Linked DNA regions of Homo sapiens: regions 2 and 3 are each linked to region 1. Evidence: promoter capture Hi-C in human tissues and cell types (Jung and others, 2019). All regions are on one chromosome and are shown on one strand. Each heading gives the region's core, a stretch centred on a gene start or on the middle of the fragment in contact. The rest is flanking DNA. Distances are from core to core; before and after follow the strand shown. Region 1 holds the start of HECA (hdc homolog, cell cycle regulator). Region 2 has its middle 51 kb from the start of LINC02941. Region 3 overlaps HEBP2 (heme binding protein 2).

Region 1 (3,640 bases), core at 760-3,259:
TATCTGTATAGTTCACAATGAGGCAGAGAACAGAGTCTGGAGGCAGGGAACCTAAGGGCGTTTCACCCCACTTCCTAAACTAAATTGAAAGGAAAACCCTAACTTTCCACACCTGAGTAACAAAAGGACCAGAAGCTGCTCCCTTTGCAAACCCTCACCTTTTCTGCGTGGCAGATGGGAAACTGGCTGTCAGCAACCAATGAGACTGATTGCGGGTGGAGTCTTTGCATAGAAGTGCAACTTTGTAACTTCACCTTAGCCTCTGATTGGTTGCTTTTTAAACAGAAGTGTGCAAAAAGTGTGATTGCACAGAAGTGTGACCTTTGTTAACTCCACTTCAGCCTCTGATTGGTTGACGAAAGCAACCAATCAGACTAATTGTGCGTCACCACTTCATTTACATGAGAAACCTCCAGGGGGTATTTGGACCTCAGAAGATTCTGCATCCGGAACCTTGAGCCACCGCTGGGGCCGCTTCCATACTGTGGAGTGTACTTTCATTCTCAATAAATCCCTGCTTTCTTCTTTCCTTGCTTTGCTGGGCGTTTGGTCCAATTGTTTGTTCAAAATGCCAAGAACTTGGACGACTTGCAGTCAAGACCCTCTAATGGTAACAACAACACCGTGACAGAGCTTTTACTAAAGGGCTGAATTAAAGATTACACTATAAAAGGGGAACACTGTAAAGCTGTCAGCTAAACTAGTCTTTCCTCCACAGTTCGTGAGGAAGGAACCTAATTTATACATTCAACAAATTTATGCCAGCTGTTCTCTGATGTGCCCAAGGCAGATAAAATCTATCCATGGAGGTTTCATTTCAGTGAGAGGGAGATATACAAGAAATAAGTAAACACCTACATTGCCAACATAATTAGAGATGGAGGAGGAAAATAACAGGGTGGAACTTCTGACAGCTCTCCTGGGAAGGTCTCTGTGGAAGTGATGTATTTGAGCTGAGACCTGAAGGAAGGGAAGGAGTTGGCCGAAAAGGTAGAATAGAATTGCAGAAAGAGATCAAGGGGAGCTCTTCCCAGGGGTCCCCTGCCCTCATATTGCCTGTCTTCACTGGTGTCACCTAATCTCCTACTGCTCATAACCTGGCTACCTATCTTTCACTATCTTTCAGGACAACTCAGCCCTATGCATAGGGATGGGTTCCCCCCAAGCAGGGACTGCTTCAGAGTCCAGGCAACATCTAGTTACATCCCTGGATGATGGGTCTTGTTTGAGTGAATTGTTTTCACCACCAGACTGTGAAGGCTTCCCATTCAGGACCCTGGTGTTCATCCCCATTGTCTGGGAACTCTACCCTGTTTCTTTCTTTCTTTTCTTTTTTTTTTTTTTTTTTTGAGACAGAGTCTCGCTCTGTTGCTCAAGCTGGAGTGCAGTGGCGCGATCTCGGATCCCAGGTTCAAGTGATTCTCCTGCCTCAGCTTCCCGAGTTTCTGGGACTACAGGCGCACGCCACCACGCCCAGCTAATTTTTTTTTGTATTTTTAGTAGAGACAGGGTTTCACCACGTTGGCCAGGATGGTCTCGATCTCTTGACCTCGTGATACACCCGCCTCGGCCTCCCAAAGTGCTGGGATTACAGGCATAAGCCACCGCGCCCGGTCCCCTGTTTCTTTAATTACTGTTACTGAAAGGCATAGCCTTTGAATGAGTTATTAATCCAAAATCTTTTGTTTTCCATTCTTGCTCTAGTCACAGCTTATTTTTCCAGACCATACTGTTCTAAGCCTCAATTACATTAAGGCCAGGAGGCCACCGAAGAACTCCACATGCCACTGCACTGGCGGGTGGAGCAAGTCAAGCAGGGCAGCTCATGAACGCCCGGGAGTCCAGGAGGCCCGGGTGGGGACGCCTGGATGACGTCACTCGAGGTGGGCAGGCCCCGCGCGGGGCGTGACGTCACGCGGGCGGTCCCGTCAGCCGTGAGGTCACCTGGTGGGCGCGGCCAGGCCGAATCCCCAGTGTCGTCACGGGAGGGGGCGGGCCCAGAGCGTGTCAGTGCAGCCGAATCAAAACAAGCCGGAGACCCGCCTTTTCCCTCCGGCTCGGGAGCGTCTCGCTTGCGCCCCGGGCCCGCGGCGCCCGCGCGGCTGCGAGCCTCGGGTGGCCGCGTGCCGGCTCCAGGAAGCCGGAGAGGGCGCGGCGGCCAGGATGGCGCGGCACGGGCCGTGCGGCTAGACGGGAGCCGAGGGAACCGCCGGCTCGCGCCCTCCGTTCTTTCCCGGAGCCGGCTTCACGCAGGGCCGGGAACGGCCGTGCCTCTGGGATCCGCCTTCGCTGACGCCGGGCACCTACCTGGACGCGAGCGAGCGAGATGCCCAACCCCAAAAACAGCAAAGGCGGCCGCAAAAACAAGCGCGCCAACAGCAGCGGCGACGAGCAGGAAAATGGAGCCGGGGCCCTGGCAGCGGCGGGCGCGGCGGGAGCGGCGGCCGGGGGGGCCCTGGCGGCGGCGGCCGGTTGCGGGGCGGCGGCGGCGGGCGCGCCGGGCGCCGGAGGCGCGGCGGGCGCCGGAGGCGCGGGGACTGGCGCCGCGAACGCTGCGGCCGCCGCGGGGGCTGCGGCCGCGGGCGATGCCAAAAACGGTAAGACGGGGCTGGCGGGGCGAGCGCCAACTTCCTCCCCGACGGGGACGGCGCGGTGGCGGGGCCCTGGGTGGCGCGGGCGGTGCGTGGACAATGCGAGAGTCAGGAAGTGCTCACCCCGCCCCTCCGCCCCGCCGCGGCTGCCCCTTCGCGGTCCCCACGCCTGGCGGCGGGGACAGATCTGCGGCCCCTGCCCGGTGTCCGCGCGGGGGGCAGCCCGCGCCCCACACTCTGAGGGGCTCCCGGCTGCGGCAGCGCTGCCCTCGGGCCCAGCCTGCTGCCCGCGCTGGCACTGCCCCGCCGTGTGTGCCGGGCCGAAGGGAGGAAGGAAGGGAGGAAAGAGCCGCCCAAGTTGAGAAGAATGATCCGATTGAAAACTTAGGCACCGGTTAATTCTTCCCGGTGCTCCAAGGCCACCCGTAACCCCCGGAATGAAGGAGAGAGAGCCTCAATTCTTAGCACACCCAGGCTTGCTGCGTCGATCGCCACAGGTGAAGAGGCCTCGAGACATTTAGGGCCTCTGTGTTTGCTCTTTAATTTTTTGGCTTGCTTGAGGAAGGAAGAGAATCTGAACTTGACTTCCGTTCTCAGCCCGGAGTTAAAAAAAAAAAAAAAAAAAGAAAAGAAAGAAAAGAAAAATCATTCTCTATGTCATTGTGCTTAACATTTTCAGAAGGAAGCCTCATAATCTTAGGTAGTGCCTGAATGTTCCTTTTGAGGGGACACTTAGGAACTGGCCCAGATGTGACAGGATTTCTGTTCTCATTACAGAGCCATGGTTTTCGTTATAAGGTGCTGGGCAAACACTTACTTATTTGGACAGTTCTTTGAATTCCTCTAGTCAGGCACTTTTTCCAGGAAGACAACGTAGGTATTTTAATGAAGGGAGATTTGAATTGTTATATCTGGCTTTTAATTTATAGCGTCAGCTTTTGAAGCCATTCTTTATGTAGATCAGGCACTTTTTTGTTTTGTTTTTTTTTTTTTAGACGGAGTTTGCAATTTCGCCCAGGCTGGAGCGTAGTGGCGCAATCTCGGCTCAC
Region 2 (3,640 bases), core at 673-3,172, 790 kb after region 1:
TAAAAATCAGGTGCATTCATTAGTATCTTTCTAACATGGGAAAAATACAGCCATCAGCCATTAAAACACAATCCAGTTTGGATACAGGTACTATTCAGGTTTTCTAAGTTTTCTAGCTGAATACCAAGACTGGGCTACCATCTTTTGTAGCAACCCAGCCTGCAGCCACTGCTATCTCCCTAACTAGCAGTCTCCCAAGCTGCACTAAAACTGGGATTAACAAAGCTGAAGATAAAGCTTTTTTGACCTTTCCTCCTGGAAGTTAGAGGGCTCTTTGGGTAGGAAGGGACAGGAAGTTTTGCATCAAGCTTGCCTTCACATTCACTATTGTGCAAAAATCTACCTATCGCACACCTGTATTGAGTGTTTGAGTGTACTTACTCATCACCATAAAAGAAAGTTAGAGTAAATTAAGAAGTCTCTCTGGACGAAGCCACTCAAAACAGGCAAATTTGGTGAACCAAGGCAATTCGCTGCCTGTGGTAATAGCTTCAGTTCACCTAAGTCATTTCCTGAAGAATCATATTAAGCTCATGATTCAGGAGGCACCTCTGGCCAGCACAGAGCAGAGAAGAAAAACATAACTTCAGTTTAGGGTGAATTATATATTATTATCACTTTTAGCCAGCTGTAAGTAGCAAAATGCTGCTTAAATTACTTTTTCAAATTTAAATATTTTGTTTGCATACATCAGTCTCTTGATCCAGCTGTATTCCTTCTAACCATTTTCCTACTAACAAAGGTCTGTGAGAGGTTTTGGGGTGATGTTTATCAATTCAGAAACAAGCTTTTATTGAGCACTTACTCTGTGCCAGTCTCTTGGCCGAGGACCAGATTGAACAGTGGTGAACAAGACAGACAAGTCTCGGCTTAAGGCAGCTTACTGTGTAGCACGGAAGACTGACATTAAGCCAACACAGAAATAAATATATAACTACAGATTTCATTGCATCATGTGCAAAAAACACCCATGAAGCCAGAAGACTGAGTGTGATTTAGCTGGAGGGAAAAGTCAAGAAGAGCCAGACCAACAGAAGAACTCTTTGTGTCGGCCTACAGCAGAAAGGAGTTTAGACGCTTGAGGGAAGAGGAAAAAGAGAGTTGGGGCAGGGAAGAGGTTGCAACTGGATGTACTTTGACATCAATTTTTAAAAACCCTAAACCAATCAAGCATTGTAAAAGTCCATACCTCATCTCACCAAAAATCTATTACTCTGAAATCTACTATTGTTTTTCTTCTGAAATATATTACTGCCATCTCCCTCCTCCCTCCCTCCCTCCCTCCCTCCCTCCCTCTCTCCCTCTCTTTCTCTCTTTCTTTCTCACTTTCTTTTCTTCCTTCCTTCCTTTCTTCCTTCCTTCCTTTCTTCCTTTCTTCCTTTCTTCCTTTCTTCCTTTCTTTCTTTCTTTCTTTCTCTCTTTCTCTCTTTCTCTCTTTCTCTCTTTCTCTCTTTCTTTCTTTCCTTTCTTTCTTTCTTTCTGACAGAGTCTCACTCTGTCACCCAGGCTGGAGTGCATGGCACAATCTCGGCTCACAGCAACCTCTGCCTCCTGGGTTCAAGCAATTCTCTGCCTCAGTAGCTGGGATTACAGGCAACCACCACCATGCCCGGCTATTTTTTTATTTTTATTTTTAGTAGAGACAGGGTTTCACCATCTTAGCCAGGCTGGTCTTGAACTCCTGACCTCATGATCCACCTGTCTTGGCCTTCCAAAGTGCTGGTATTACAGGCATGAGCCACCGCGCCCAACCTCTTTTCTTTTTTGAATAACTGTACCTACCTTTTTTCTTATCTGTGTTTCCAAATTATGGCTCTTACCTCATATGAGGTCTTATATCTCTCTCTTTTTTTTTTTTTTTTTTTTTTGAGACAGACTCTCGCTCTGTCGCCCAGGCAGTAGTGCAGTGACGCAACCTCGGCTCAGTGCAATCTTCATCTCCCGGATTCAAGTGATTCTCCTGCCTCAGCCTCCTGAGTAGCTGGGATTATAGGCATGCGCCACCTCACCCAGCTAATTTTTGTATTTATAGTAGAGACGAGGTTTCCCCATGTTGACCAGACTGGTCTCGAACTCCTGACCTCAAGTGATCCACCCGCCTCGGCCTCCCAAAGTGCTGGGATTACAGGCATGAGTCACTGCGCCCGGCCAAGGTCTTATATCTCTTTATTTTTTTCTTTTTCTCTATAATTTCCTACATGTTAATAACTCCTCTCATCACTGTGAAGCCTGCAATGTCCTTCATGTTCCCATCCAGTGAGGAGTCCAGTTTCCTTTTGACTATATCATGCTTTAGGAGGGATGCCCTTGAATGTTTTTTGAATGCGTTTGTCCTTAAATCACTGTTGACTATAAATATATATTTATATATATACACACACAAATAGCCAAAGGAAGATATCGTTTAAGTCTGAGACCAAAACTAGGCAAGGTTTTCTGTCTTTATTTTGTATTTTTGTACGCATTACAGTGTTAGACAGCTTTTAATTAGCCTCGCTGAGTAAAACTGCTGCTGATGGATTTTTCTTTGTGGGTGGGGGTGGATGCTCAGTTTTCTACCCTGATTACTAATTATTATTGTCTTTGCCTTTCAAATCAAATCATAGTTTTGAAATCACAGAGCTCGATTTAACTGCAGCCTGATGACTCTATAATAATTTTGAGGAATATTGTGCAAGATTCTACTTTCCCTGATTTCTATTTGTTATGAGCTCATATTTATGAATGGAAGTGTGCAGTCCAGTCTGATCTATGGCTTGTTACAAATGTGGAATATGTATGCGTTGCTGTTTCTGCCTTCTTTGCAACACACCACCACCGTGATTCATGTGTAAACAGGAGGCCGCTTCTCCTCAGTCCTTCCCTTCCATCTTGTCCATGTGCTTCACAATTACAGCCAGTTGAGGAGGCGAAGTACACAGAGGCCACTGAGTTATTTTACATGCTGTGGGCTGCCAGCACATTGTGAATCCCTAGGGATCCCCGAAGCCCATTACCAACCCAGTGAATCACTCTGTTTGCTTTTCCGCAAAAAAGAAATGTGCAGCTGCGTACTTCTGCCACGGACTTTGGAATTTTGTTCCCTCTTCCATCTGCGTTTTGTGTAAAGAAATTCTGCCGGAATAATTACTTGTCTGTCCCCTTTGCTCATTCCCAACATAATCATTCTTCAACCTTCTGTTTCCAATTAGTTCTTATCTCAAATGGCTTATTGGCATCAATCTGTTCTCAGCATCACCAAAGTGCACAAAACTACCCTGAAACATAGGGGAATCTAGATAAGGCTGAGGCTCACCCATCAATCCAGTGGAGTCTCCTCATTTCACCCCAGTGCCTTCCTTTTCTCAGGAAACCTGAGACAGGAGATGGTGTTGAGACAGGCTGTTGATATAGCACATTTTGGAGCAAAATGACATCCATGAATATTGCAGGTACTGTGCAAGGTCTGCGAACATAGCCATTGTTGGACATCTGGTGTCAAAAAGAACTGTTTCAAAACAAGGTCACAGTGTTAAATCATGGTGTAGACAGCTTCTGAGCAGTGTCCACTGCTGGAGAGGGTAACCGAGACCTGTTTGTCAATGGTTGCACTCTAAGTCTTGGTAGTCACTTTGATCTGCAAACTGTTTTGCCACAGGAT
Region 3 (3,640 bases), core at 650-3,149, 720 kb before region 1:
TCAAAGGGGCTGGGTTTATACAACTAGATAAAGGAGAGGGTATATTGACTTGGGGCTCTCAGGATAGAGGATTTCACACCATGAGAAAAATGCCAGGAGATAATACAGACTCACTGCTCTAGGGCAGCTTGGTAGAAGCCTAGAAAGAGTGATCAAAATGTTGAAATGCCTGAATGGCTGGGACAAACAATAGAGAAAGGAATGAGAAGGCTCAGGGAAGGGAGCATGCCAGCATGGATATATGAGGCAAGGTGACCCATCAGACAATTATGTTCCACGGGAAGGCCCAGGGGACCCATCCTTCAGCAAGGCTGCTGGGAATGCACTGATAAGCGGGCTTGGGCATCATAAAGGAGCTCAGCGGTGGCTCTCCTCGGCAGGCTGGGGCTGGCAGGAAGGGCTGTGATGGAACTTCACTTGCTGAGAGCAATGTGGATGATGATGAGACCTTGAAGAGCCCAGGTGGCAGTGCCAGCCACAGAAGCCAGGGTGCCATCAGTATCCTGTTAACCACTAAGCTCCAAATGGCAGCCGAGGGGTCCTGACCTGTAAAGTCTCATGGAAATAGTTGGTAGAACAAGGCATTCCTAGGGACAAAAGAGCTGACTAATCAACAAGGGTAAGGCTTTATATATAATCAAAAGTGAGCAAGAATTGATGAGCAGGGGACTGAGAGAGATCACTCCAATTAAAAAACAAAAACATGATTCCTTGCCAGTTTCTAGTTCAGTTTTCTGACCTAGAGCTCATTAATTGCAGAGGTGACTGTATCCTAGGGGAAAGTTTCCTGCAACATTTCAGCAGGTGTACACAGTAATGATCCCCTCATTCTTTTTCTAAAGGATCTATGGCCATTTACTCAGGTGGCTCTACCCTGGGGAAAGAGGAATACCTGGATACGTCAGGGTCCAAGTTAACGTCTGATACCCAGAAACCCAAAGAGTCATTACAGTTCCTCCTCCTCCCATTAAAATGGGAGCATACAGAGGTTAGAAAGTAAACGTAGTTCTAATCAAAGTTTGGCTTACAGCAGATCTCCTGGGCCTGCAGGTTATCTGCCTAATCCCTGAATGTATAATTGAGACTGACATCCTTGGCAGGCAGAATAACCCCTACATTTGTTCCTTGACCTGTGGGGAAAGAGTATAAGCTTCTAAACTCCCTCTCCTCCAATCAGGGCAGTAAACCATAATAAATATTGCCTTGAACAGTATTTTTTAAGCACCTCGGGTGAACATCTGCTTCTGGCCATGATGATGAATTGGGAACCCAATTTACCTGTCCCTCTTAAACAACTAAAAGCCCAGACAAAATATATGAAACAATGGTTTTCAGACACTGAAAGTTCATAGTACAGGACTGTGATCTCTGCGAGAAGGGGGAATAATGAGGTGAGTCCAGTGATTGCTCAGGCGAATGGCCTGGAGGCAGTTTCTAGGCAGCAAAGCAGGGAGAGGGAAGCCAGAGACCAGTGGTCCTGCTGTGTTGAGGAGATGGAGATCAGTGTCACCGGAGGCCAAGGTGAGTAAGTGAGAGGAGAGGAGGCAGCAGCACACAGACAGAGAGTGCTGTAGATCTGCAGTGGGTCCCCTGGAGTCCTTGGTTGAGTGAAGGTGTTAGAAGAAACTACTTAAGCCAAGAAATGAGTAACTGGAAATTAGTAGAGCAAATAATTTACAGATCATCTATGGGGCTGGGAAAAGTTTGTGTTTCCACTAGCCAGAGTAGAAATAACTCATAATGCATGGGTCATCAGGTGGAGTCCTCCAACAGGTGTTGCCTTAGTACTGAGGTCAAATTGTCCCTAGACCAAAGGCTTCTTTGGACTTCCCCTAACAAAGCTTAAAGACAAGCCTTGGAAGGATCAAACTAATTTCAAGAAACTTAACTGTGAATCAGAATAAAACCCAATACCATTTATAGGAATATAACAAAATCCATCAACAAACAACATAACACTCATAATTACCAACATTCAGTAAAAAATTACTGGAAACAGAGAAATATAAATTATGGCCCATAATTAGGAAAAAAGGGTAATCATTAGAAGTAGAACCAGAAGTGACAGATATGAAGAAATTAGCAGCTTGAATTATGTGATGTGGCAGATCTTATGTATTGGAGGTAGGGGGAAAGAAGATGCAGTGTGGAATAGATGACAAGGCCCAATGAGAGAATCACAGTGCAGGTCCCTGGGGCCCTGAAGGAAGGTGGTTCTAACCACAGGAGAGGATCATATGCTTTTTGAAAAACAGCCTCTGCTGTGCTACTGGGCCCTGGTAGACACGGAACTTTGAGACCCAGTGATGCTGTATCCAGAACTGCTCATCTTAACTAGGTCCTGTGGGAAGCACTAAGTCATAAGCTAGTAGGATCGGCAGCAGCCCATTGGAAGATGGAAATGATATGTACAGGAGCAGTTCCAAGCCAGACCAGAGGACATAAGCAAACTGCAAGAGCAATTACTCCAACCGCCATGTCTGCACAGTGGCACCTACATCCCCCCTCCCTGTGGTTGTTGGAGGACCTGTATGATCCACTGAAGGAAGAGGAATGCTTGGGCTTGGTTTATTGATTAGTTATCTTCTGTAGTTGCAAGCTGAAAATGGACCTTCACTCAAAGGTGACATTGAAAAACGGGAAAAAAATTGCAATCTTCCTGCAAAAACTGGGCAGAATTTTTTGAGGTACACTGGATCATTCACCTTGTGAGGGAGGACAGGTAAAATATTTATGGAAGTGGCAGAAAATGGCCTGCCAGCTGATCAGGAGTTTGGGAGGAAAAAAACATGGATTAGGAGGTCTGGGGTAGAGGCATGTGGATGGGCATATGGAGTGAACACAGAAGTTGAAAAACTGTATCACATGTTAATGCCCACTAGATAGCACCCACCAGAGAAGAGGCACTAAACAACCAAGTAGATGAAATGACTTAGCCTGTTCTATTAGCTTTTGCCAGTGCCCACCTCAGTGCTGGTAAAATGCACACATAAAGTGGCAGTGGTGGCAAAGATGGAGGCTATGGATGGAACCCACCAACATGGGCTCCCACTTACCAAGGCCAACTTAGACACTGCTCACTGTGACTATCCAACCTGCCTGCAACAAATACCAATGCTGAGACCCTGATGAGGCTGTGAAGACCAACTGGTCGCTTGATAGCAAATTCACTATGGTAGGCTCATTCTTTCCTAGAAGCACCAGCAGTTTATTCACACAAGGACAGACTTCCTATTCTAGGTATGTGGTTCCTTTCGGGCCTACAGGGTCCTGAACACAATCTAAGGACTTACAAAACATCTGAACTGTCAGCGTAGATTTGCTGAATACGTGATCTATACATGTTAACACCCAATCAGGGAGAGTTCGCCAGCGGTCATAGGATCCACTGCTCCTATCACATACTGCGCCACCTAGAAGCTGCTAGACTGATGGAATGTTGGCATGGCCTGCTTTAGTGCCAGGTGGGAGACAATACCCTGCCAAGATGTGCCACCGTCTCCTGCACACAGTATACTTATTGAATCAGAAAGCCTGTATGATGCTGTGTCTACAACAGGAATATATAGATTTCAGAACCAAGGAGTGGAGGCAGGAGTGACCCCACTTACCATCGCACCCAACGAACCACTGAGGGACT

What was found. Contacts are between HindIII fragments. The study calls those that stand out against the background at their distance.
Region 2: a contact is called between a fragment that was not itself captured here and the fragment with the promoter of HECA in region 1, in 1 of the 25 tissues and cell types used here (spleen).
Region 3: a fragment that was not itself captured here is called in contact with the fragment with the promoter of HECA in region 1 in 1 of the 25 tissues and cell types used here (spleen).

The regions. Positions count from the first base shown.
Region 1 is chr6:139,133,071-139,136,710 of GRCh38, forward strand. It overlaps HECA (hdc homolog, cell cycle regulator), which reads left to right and starts at 2,010. Exons shown (of 4, transcript NM_016217.3): 1 at 2,010-2,597. The coding sequence starts at 2,327. RefSeq lists enhancers at 474-523, 1,802-2,096, 2,962-3,081 and silencers at 1,802-1,991, 2,102-2,181, 2,582-2,851. The HindIII fragment of the contact is 7,882 bases long and covers 1-3,640 here.
Region 2 is chr6:139,923,286-139,926,925 of GRCh38, forward strand. No RefSeq gene overlaps it. Among named protein-coding and RNA genes, the nearest start is that of LINC02941, 51 kb to the right of the region's middle. The HindIII fragment of the contact is 4,135 bases long and covers 1-3,640 here.
Region 3 is chr6:138,416,150-138,419,789 of GRCh38, forward strand. It overlaps HEBP2 (heme binding protein 2), which reads left to right. Exons shown (of 4, transcript NM_014320.3): 4 at 1-3,640. Among named protein-coding and RNA genes, the nearest start is that of HEBP2, 14 kb to the left of the region's middle. The HindIII fragment of the contact is 5,598 bases long and covers 1-3,640 here.